2 separate regions of the Homo sapiens genome follow, and region 1 is linked to region 2. Evidence: promoter capture Hi-C in 16 types of primary human blood cells and fetal thymus (Javierre and others, 2016). All regions are on one chromosome and are shown on one strand. Each heading gives the region's core, a stretch centred on a gene start or on the middle of the fragment in contact. The rest is flanking DNA. Distances are from core to core; before and after follow the strand shown. Region 1 overlaps BCLAF1 (BCL2 associated transcription factor 1). Region 2 holds the start of SYNCRIP (synaptotagmin binding cytoplasmic RNA interacting protein).

Region 1 (4,757 bases), core at 1,964-4,463, about 51 Mb before region 2:
CCTCTGCATGTTAACTTGTACTTTTCCCCCCCCTCCAATGTGGCACTTGCCACTATTTGATTTTTTCCTTGTTTTCTGTCTTCCCCTCTCTGAAAGCTTCAAGAGAGTAGGGAGCTTAAGTCTTAACTTAAAATGCTGTATTCCCAACGTTAGAATAGTAGTGCCTGGCATGTAAGGCACTTATCTCAAGTTATCTGGAAAGTTTAGGGTTCTCTGTATTTGAAAGATGGGATTAATATGTAGCTCATGAGATTATCAGGATCAAATATGACATTATTTTATTTACTTTAAGTCACCTAGCACAGTTCTTGGCACATGGTTGGTATTTAGATGTTTAGTTTACTATGATTTGTTGCTGATAACTGTTCTCGATTTGGTTTTTGGAAGGCAGGGACCACTTACATAGATACATTTCCTATAGTAATTAGCATTGTGCTTTGTATATAGACTTTCATTTTTTAAAAATTAGTTGAACTAATCAGTCTTTGATACTGACTTATTTATTGTGTGTTACATTTTGTGTATTATTTGAGTTATTGGTGTGGATACTTGAATATATTTATAGATTGTGAACAGGAATGTATATCCACTGGTCTAACAGCCTGTATTCCCTGTTCTGTCAGTTTTTTATATCTAGTGTTTATTTTCTTTGAACTTCAAAATACCATGACGGAGTAAAGAGATCTGGCAGTTGGGTCTTCTCTGGATATATATATATATATATATATATATATACACACACACACACATATATATGTATATATATATATAAATTAGCCTTTTGGAATTGTTTAGGGAAGTGTTAGCTAAAATGAGCCTTGTACCACTTCTAGGAGTGAATCAGTAGTAATGACTTTCCAGGTCAGAATAGTTTTATGACAGTACTCCAGTTTAGAAGATTGCCATTTTTTTCTCTGGCCACTTGGGGTTTTGATATTTTAAAAACTAAACTTATATGTCCTTTAGAAATCCTTTGTTTTTGTACCCAATCTTGCTTGGCTTTTTGACTTTGCTACTTTTTTAGTGTTTCCCTTAATAGGTTCCGATTCCTCCTTCCTAGGCTGAACCTCAAATCTCTCCCCAGTTGGAGGGCCATGGATATTTTAGGAGACGCTATTCTTGATTCACCAGTTTAATGTTACCATTTCTTCTTTGTATTTCCAGTCTCGTTTTATTTTTAAAATTGGATCTTGGTAAGAGTTACAGATTTCCATTTAAACTTGTTCATGAATTCTTTGAGTGCTGATGTATATTAATCTTGTATTCCTTAGTTTCTGTTCGCCTGGTGCTTTTGACTATCCTTTGCACATACTTGATGTGAATATACATAAAGCTAAACTTTTCAGTATTGGTAACTTGAATATTTTGTGCAAAGTTTATTTACAGATTAATGATAAATTATTTTAGGAAGAATATTGACTTTCAGTAGATAAAAGTTTCATTGCTGACTGTTCTTTTATTTGAATGTAGACGTATCAAGATGCTTTTAGGCACAGAATTTAAAGTTACTATGATGGCTGTTAACGTGGATTTAAAAATCAGTTTCACATGAAACTAAATTGTGTGAAAGGAAGTACCAAAAGAGAATAAGTAGCAGAGCATTAAACTCATATTTTAGATGTTATAAAGTAGAGCATTATGAAAATTAACTACAGATTACCTTTTTTTTTTTTTTTTTTTTTTTTTTGAGATGGGGTCGTGCTGTGTTGCCAAGGCTAGAGTGTGTTGCCAAGGCTAGTCACAGGTGTGATCACAGTGCATTGCAGTGTCAAACTCCTGGGCTCAAGTGATCCTTCTGCATCAGCCTCCCAAGTAGCTGGGACTACAGGCTTGTGCTACCTTGCCCCGCTACCAAGATGGCATTATGTTAGCTACGTTGGAATTTTCTGATGGAACGACATATCATATGTTTTTTAAGGCTCAAATTACTAAAATTAGAATTCAAGTAGTTAAAAAGATGCTGTCAGTTTCATGATACGCTACTGCATTGTGGTTTACAAAAAAGTTGAATTTTAAGCTTTTACGGTTAAAAGTTTCCTATTTCCTGAATTAGTTTTTCCTTCCCTGAAATTGTAAGTGCGTTTATTAGAGTTTATGGCAGTGCCCATTATATGCATTGTAAATAATGGTTATTTAATTTAACATAAATCACAATAATGGTTTTTTTGTCTTTGCTAGGAATTCGAATTTAGAGTTTAATTTCTCAGAGCATTCTCTCCAGGAAGAATTTTTACAGTATCTCAAAGACTTCACTTGACTTCTTGATCCTGCATAAAACCAAGGTAAAAGAGCATTCATTTTTCTAGTTTTCACTTTTGACTTTTTTGAGGAAATGTCACTACTGAATTGATGATTCAGATGGAGTGATTAAAAATGATGTGGTCCGAAGCTTTGTTTTTTGTTTATTTTGGTGGCTTGTATGAAGTAAGTCAGATGTTAAGTTAGTTTTAGGAAAAAGGTTCTTTTTCTGTCTTCTTCCAGGTTGTGCTCCTGCTTTTTCTATTTCTATAAACACATCTACTAAAAGACTCAGGACATACAAGATAGAAAGACTGCTACTTAACCCATTTCCCTAATGTAAACAAGAGGAGATTCATAACTTGTTTCTCTCTACTGTAGTGTTTAGGTAATTCAAATTGATTGCTAATGTGTTAGATGTATTAAGTGAATTAAGTTCATCAACTCATTAAGTCCACTACAAGTCTGTGAAGTAGGTACTGTTATTTTCTTCGTTTTACAGTTGAGGAACAGGCTCAGAGAGCTTAAGGAATTTGAATTCATGTAGTTTAAATGCAGAGACCATGTTCTTAGCTTTTTCCCTGTTTTTGCAGTAGAGCAGAAGATATCAATCCATTTCTTTTGGACTGCTAACTATTTGATAGGCATGCTTTCTTTCCGTTAGTTTTTGAAGTTTCAGGTGTAGCTTAAAGCAAAACGCAAACCTTTAAAAATGAACTTGCTGCTTTAAAAAATGTCCAGGTTCTGGGGAATGCATTCATTTTATAGTTATTTATTAAATACCTGTTGTGCTCGTGTGCCACAAGCCCAGCTACATCCTGGTGACTGAAAAAGCCTACAGAATTCCTGAATCCTTTAACAGAAATTACCATCCAAAAAGCCTCAAGAGCAAAGAACAGAGATTCTGGAGATACAGCACAACACAGCATCTGTAGCTCTTAGTAAAATAGTGTTTTATTTACTGATTAGTACAATGAAAAAGGATGTTGTCTTATTGCTGGACTGGATCTCCAAAATCATTTGCAGCTCTGGTTTCTTTTTATAGTGTGTCTGATTATCTCAGAGTGGGATAAAAATAAATATCTTGAAGTAAATTCGATCAGAATGAATGTAAATTACGTATTTATATTCTTTTAAAAACTTTGGGAGGGACAGAATTTTGAAATCAGATGCAAGAGAATGTCACAGTTCCCCGTGGCCAAGATTCCTTCCTTTACAGGCTGTAAATGTGGTTTTTGCCAATTTCATTATGTTGTCAAAACTACAGTTGCTAAACCAAATTTGTGTTCTACAAGGTGTCAGATCTCCTTATGTTAATGCTAAATTTATTTCTTATGTGTTGTGGAATTCTTACTTTGCCTTTTTGAACCCTGAACCTATGTTTTGTTTCTGTCTTTATGTATTTCTTGCTTACTTGGGATTGAGAAGAAGAGTGAGAGAAGACAAAGGTGGTAGTCTATTAGAGGATAGTTATGTTTTATTTTGAAATAAGCATTTATCTCAAACATCTTGAATTTGTTATTTATATTGCTTGATGAGGAACTATCCAAGTATTACCATTACTTCTTCTATAACTGAACTCATCTTAGTACCTCCAAATACTATTTTATTATACCGAACAAAGTCTAGGTAGGTAAAAAAGTGCCTTCAAAAATACTTGGTTGTAGGAGATACTATTTAAGTATTATGGGAATTGCAAGGTGTTAGAAGTTTAGTAAGTTGATTTTTATTGAAATGAATACTTTTTGAGTAAGTTAGTGTAAATTTGGAAATAGTTCTATGCAGCAAAAACAAGCTTGAGAGGCTAAGATATAATCTAATCATTGAAAAGTTGAAAATGTGACATTTGGGATATGCATGCAGTGATTTGCTATATGTGTATGTTTTTTCAATTAGTAGATCTTATAAATCAATTAGTTTTGACAGTTACTGATTTCTGTACCCAATGAGGTCTAATTATAGCATTGGATACCATGTAGTGTTTAGAAAAGTTAAACTACTGGTGCCCAAGTTTTTTTTTTCTTGTAGTTCTAATAAATCTTTCTTGAAGTAATCCCTCCAATTCTTTATCTTTTATTCTTTTTAAATCTTCTTAACAGAAAGCTTCAGGGTGAACTAGGCATTGTCACATAAGTCCACTTTATTCTGGAGTCATGAGTACTGAGAGCAGAGCCATGGCTCCAGCTGTTTAGAAACTTAGTGTCCTGTATTGTTCTAGGATACTATCTAGTACCACTCCAGACAGGATTGTGTATATGGAGTGGTCAGTTCAGTCTCATTTTCAAGGCCATAAAGCACTATGATAACAGCCTGGTAGGTTTATTTTTTGTTAGTATTGTGACACTTTATTTTATTTCAGTTGCCTTATCTGTAGTACCTTTATTATTTATCTTTCTTACAGGAGGGGTAGGCATTTGTATTGGGCGTGGAATAACACATAACATGCTGCTGCAGTCTCATTGCTTTTTCTGGCTTCTGCAGCTGCTGCCTTTTAGGATTGAGGCTCATAAGTGGGGCAG
Region 2 (4,534 bases), core at 1,300-3,799:
ATGGGAACTCTGTAGACGGAAGACTGGGGGAAGATCACGTGCTCAGTTTCTTGAAATGCCCATCTGGAGTGCCAGAAAGCCCACATAAACATTGAGGGCGTGGCTAGAGAAAGGAATTAGATGTCAGAGAACAGCTAGAGATTTTAATTTGGGAGCTTTGCCCAGGTTAAGGCACTTTAAAAAATTTTTTTTAATACCCAGGAAGGTCTAAACAAAGTGTTACATGTTTCAGACTCATTTTTATTCTTTTTTTTTTTGAGACGGAGTCTCGCTCTGTCGTCCTGGCTGGAGTGCAGTGGCGCGATCTCCGCTCACTGCAAGCTCCGCCTCCCGGGTTAACGCCATTCTCCTGCCTCAGCCTCCAGGGTAGCTGGGACTACAGGCGCCCGCCACCACGCCTGGCTAATTTTTTTGTATTTTTAGTAGAGACGGGGTTTCACCGTGTTAGCCAGGATGGTCTCGATCTCCTGACCTTGTGATCCGCCCGCCTCGGCCTTCCAAAGTGCTGGGATTACAGGCGTGAGCCACCGCGCCCGGCCAATTTTTATTCTTGTTTAATCCATGGTATGACTCTTATTTTCATAGTTTTCTATTAAACATTTTGTTTTTCATGTATATCATTAACCACGACCTCTGCATTGTGAACAAAAATCCCTATGGCTGAAGCAGCTGAATATCACATATGTTTGATAGTAAGGAATCTGGGGTGGTGGAGATCTCAAATCCTTACTAAACAGGTTGGCTATGTGGTGCTTTGGCTAAAACATACTTCATATCTGATCCAAGTAGCTATGAAAATAATCTAGCATTTTATGTGCTTGTGCACTTTGAAGAGTGTTTATCTAACTTTTCCTCAAACCACTGATTTGTTATCATAGCACAGAGCTCATCTGGGGAACCAGTAAGCTCTTAAAAATAAGCTTTTTAATCAAAAGGACATTGTTTCTATTTTTCATTACAGCTGCCCTGGATAAAATTAGTATCCATATCGCGTCTGTAATTCAAATGCCTTTGTCTTGTCTTTCTTGTACCTAGTAAACGATTATAAAGGAAACGTCATTTCACAGAAGATTTAGTTGCCAAGGTTTTTTTTAAAAGAAACACAGACATTTTTCTCAAAGTTGTTCTAACCACGCAGCTTTGTGCTGTTTCAAGTTGCTCAAACTGTGCCAGGAGGAAGCCCTTAACTGCTTAAAAGGCCAGGGACTGAAACGGAGTATTGCACAACCCTTCACCACCGGGCGGTTTCGCTTCCAAATCTGGCCTTCGTGTCATCCCAAGGCAGGAGCCGCTCCTCGCTCCACTGGAGCCAGCCCCGTTCCCCCTTCAAAAGCAGCCGGGGTTTCCGCGTCCAAGCCTGGGGCGCCCCTCCCTTCGCCGAAGGTTCCCGTGAAAGCGGAGCCGCGCGGCTGCGAGGAGGGCCCACTGTCCAGTTGGGGAGATCGAGTCTCCAAGGGCGACTCTCGCACTCGAGTACCGCCAGTCCGGCGGACCAAAGGTCCGCGGGTCTCCGCGCCGCTCCCCTCCCCCTTGGCCCCATTGTCTGCCTCGCCCCGCCCCGGGGGACACGTGCGCCTGCAGCTTCCCGAGGAGGAGAGCGCGGGGCGGTGGCAGCGGCGTGGACACCGCCTGGAACGGCTACGCGGCCGCGGAGCCGGGGGCGGGGGCCGGGCGCGCACAGACCGGTGGGTGCCCTCCGGGAAGCGGCAGTCGCACTCAGCGCCCACAGCACTCTGCCCCGCCAGCCCCGGACCGGGCAGGGATGGGGCGGGCGGGAGCTCGGTGGGGGTGGCGTGCGCATGGTGTCGCGGGGAGGGGGTGGGGTGGGGCGGGGTGGGGAGATGCCAGTCTCCTGACAAAGGAAAACGAGTGGGACACGCTGAGCCGGCCCGCCCCGCCTGGAGGGGAGAGGGAGGGGGAGTGTCGGGAGGGGAAGGGGCGGGCCTTTCATTCAGTCTCGGCCCCTCGGCCGCCACCGTCGGAGCGGAAGGGCGGGGTCTTGTGCCTCCCCCACCCCCAACCCAAGGGGTGAGGAGCGGGGAAGGCGGCGCGGCGTGGGGGCGGAGCCCGCGGGCGCGCGTCCCGAGGCGTAGGCTACGTTGTCACGTCAGCGCGGGAGAGAGAAAGAGAGGAGCCGACTCGGCAGGGACTGGGGGACCGGGCCGAGAGTGCGAGCGAGCGAGGGAGGGAGTGAGGGAGCGTGCGAGCCAGAAGGGGAAAGGCGGCCACTCGTGCCTGAGCGACCGCAGAGGGGAGTGGGAGCAGTGGGGTAAAGGAGCGGGGGGCGGGAATAAGAAAGGCCGAGAGAAGGCGGACAGAGGCTAGTGGTGGTGGTGGTGGTAGGGGGAGAAGGAGGAGCTGGAGGAGGGCAGGGGCTGAGGGAGTGAGTGAAGCGGACGCGCGAGGGAGGGGAGGGAAGGGAAGGGAAGGGAAGGGGGGGTCACGCGGGGGCGCGCGCGCGCACCGGGAGCGCGCTCGGAGGCGAGTGGAACTGGATCGGGTTTGCTGCCAGCGGCGTGAGCTTCGGCCGCCATTTTACAACAGCTCCACTCGCGCCGGACACAGGGAGCAGCGAGCACGCGTTTCCCGCAACCCGATACCATCGGACAGGATTTCTCCGCCTCAGCCCAACGGGGAGGTAACGACTGCCAGAACCTGGGTGTGGGAGGGGAGCTCCATGACATTGTGGAGTGAGCTGGGGGAGGGTGGCGCGGGTAGAAACCGGCTTTTCTGGAAAATGGATTCCAATGGGGAGAAGAGCACGTTGACTGGGGCTGCCTGGGAGTAGGCCGCGGCCCGCGCCGCCACTTCCTCCTTTCCATGTGCTGCTGCGGTTCGGGCTTTGTCTGCGGCGCTTTGGGAGGAGGCGCCTCCACGGTCCCGTGGCCCGCACGGACCGCGAGCGGCTTCAGAGTTGGTGCTGTCGTGGCGGTCGCCGCGGCGCGGGAGTGGGCGGAGAGGAGTGGGTCTTGTCCTGCAGCCGTGCGGCGAGCTTGGGCGGTGCTCACGGTCCCGCGGGCGTTGAGCCGTCCGCTGAACGCCCTCACGCTGCTGGGTTGCCGGGCAGGCGTCGCAGTCACTGCACGGAAGGGTAAGGGGTGGGGACCTGCACAGCGCGCCACGGGTCACGTCTCGGCCGGGCGGGCGGCCGGGGGTCGTCGGCGCCCGGGGAGCGCCAGGGGCGGAGAGCCATGTGTCACGGCGGAGACGGCGGCGCTGGGGGGCGGGGAGAGCCTGTGGCCTGGCGCCGCCGGTGCCTCGGTGTTCAGGGGAGAGATTGTGCTGCTGCAGCTTTCTGGGGGCTCCGACCGCGGCTTCGGGTTGATGTTGGGAACCAGTGATGGTCGTCTTGGTTTGGGATTCGTTGGGTTGCCGTTGAAGGAAGTTGTAGGACATTGGAAGGCGCAGAGCACGTGTTTCTAATGGGCTCCTGGCGGCCGCAGTGGTGAGACTGCCGCTCTGGGTGCGGAGTCAGGGGCGGGCTTTGGGGTGCGGGGTTAAAGGGTGGAGAAATTGGGTGGTGGGAAGGTGGCTTGTATGAGCGCTTTGTTCTTCGCTGGCTGTTGTTACCGATCTATAAGCGGCAGGCGGGAAAAGCGCGCACTTTGGGGGTTTATCTTTGAGAGAGAGGAGCCCAGTTTTGCTTTCTCCACACACACCTCATTTTCCGAACGGGCACAGCTGCATGTGGCACGCTGGCTCGTACCCGTGCTGATTGGGCTCTATTTGTAATATGGTTTTTCCTAGGGAGTGTTAGCAGGTGAGTCAGGGGTGGTGCTGAGGAAGAATATGGTGAATCGGTCCTTCTGTGCCCTGTGCTCCAAATCTGGCTTGTCAGGCGATAGTGACTGTAAGGCTTTTTTAAAGGGAGGTATAGGCTAGCTGGTGTAGTAAATGGTAGAGAAAGTAAAGATGGGGCTCTCATATTGTCTTGTATTCTTTTTGAAGATCCTAGTTTAATTTTGCTTATTGCGTTTGAACAGATCTCTGGAAACATGGCTACAGAACATGTTAATGGAAATGGTACTGAAGAGCCCATGGATACTACTTCTGCAGTTATCCATTCAGAAAATTTTCAGACATTGCTTGATGCTGGTTTACCACAGAAAGTTGCTGAAAAACTAGATGAAATTTACGTTGCAGGTAAGAACTAACACTTGCAAAATTACATTATGAAATTTTTCTATTGGATTTCTGGCTTTGAGCTAAAATAGCAACTTTTTGTGGTTTCCAATAAGTGTGGGTACTGGAGTTTTGCTTGTTGTGATAGTTGGTTAATTTAAGTTTGAAGTAGAGGTTAAGATGTATAGAGGGAGGGAAGAAGAGAAGGTTAGGAGCTAAAGGCTGGCTTGCATGCTGGCCTGATGGATAAGTATATGATAGTAGCAACAGCTGCTAAATGTTGGGAACAGGCCATGTGACTTTTTTGAGTATTTTTATAGTAGGATTCTTCTTAAATAACTTGGTAACTGTAGACTTGTTTTCTTGTCTTTCTGGTGCGGCTGTTAACTTTTTCTGGTGGTATTTGAAATTG

Evidence for each region. The method cuts DNA at HindIII sites, captures the fragments that hold promoters and counts their contacts. A CHiCAGO score of 5 or more calls a contact.
Region 1: a fragment that was not itself captured here is called in contact with the fragment with the promoter of SYNCRIP in region 2 in 1 of 17 cell types (total CD4 T cells); the score reaches 5.1 in total CD4 T cells.

The regions. Positions count from the first base shown.
Region 1 is chr6:136,280,109-136,284,865 of GRCh38, reverse strand. It overlaps BCLAF1 (BCL2 associated transcription factor 1), which reads left to right. Exons shown (of 13, transcript NM_014739.3): 2 at 2,179-2,282. Among named protein-coding and RNA genes, the nearest start is that of BCLAF1, 7.4 kb to the left of the region's middle. The HindIII fragment of the contact is 1,644 bases long and covers 2,392-4,035 here.
Region 2 is chr6:85,640,901-85,645,434 of GRCh38, reverse strand. SYNCRIP (synaptotagmin binding cytoplasmic RNA interacting protein) reads left to right here and starts at 2,549. Exons shown (of 11, transcript NM_006372.5): 1 at 2,549-2,638; 2 at 3,984-4,143. The coding sequence starts at 3,996. RefSeq lists silencers at 1,470-2,489, 3,080-3,229, 3,450-3,499. The HindIII fragment of the contact is 3,992 bases long and covers 923-4,534 here.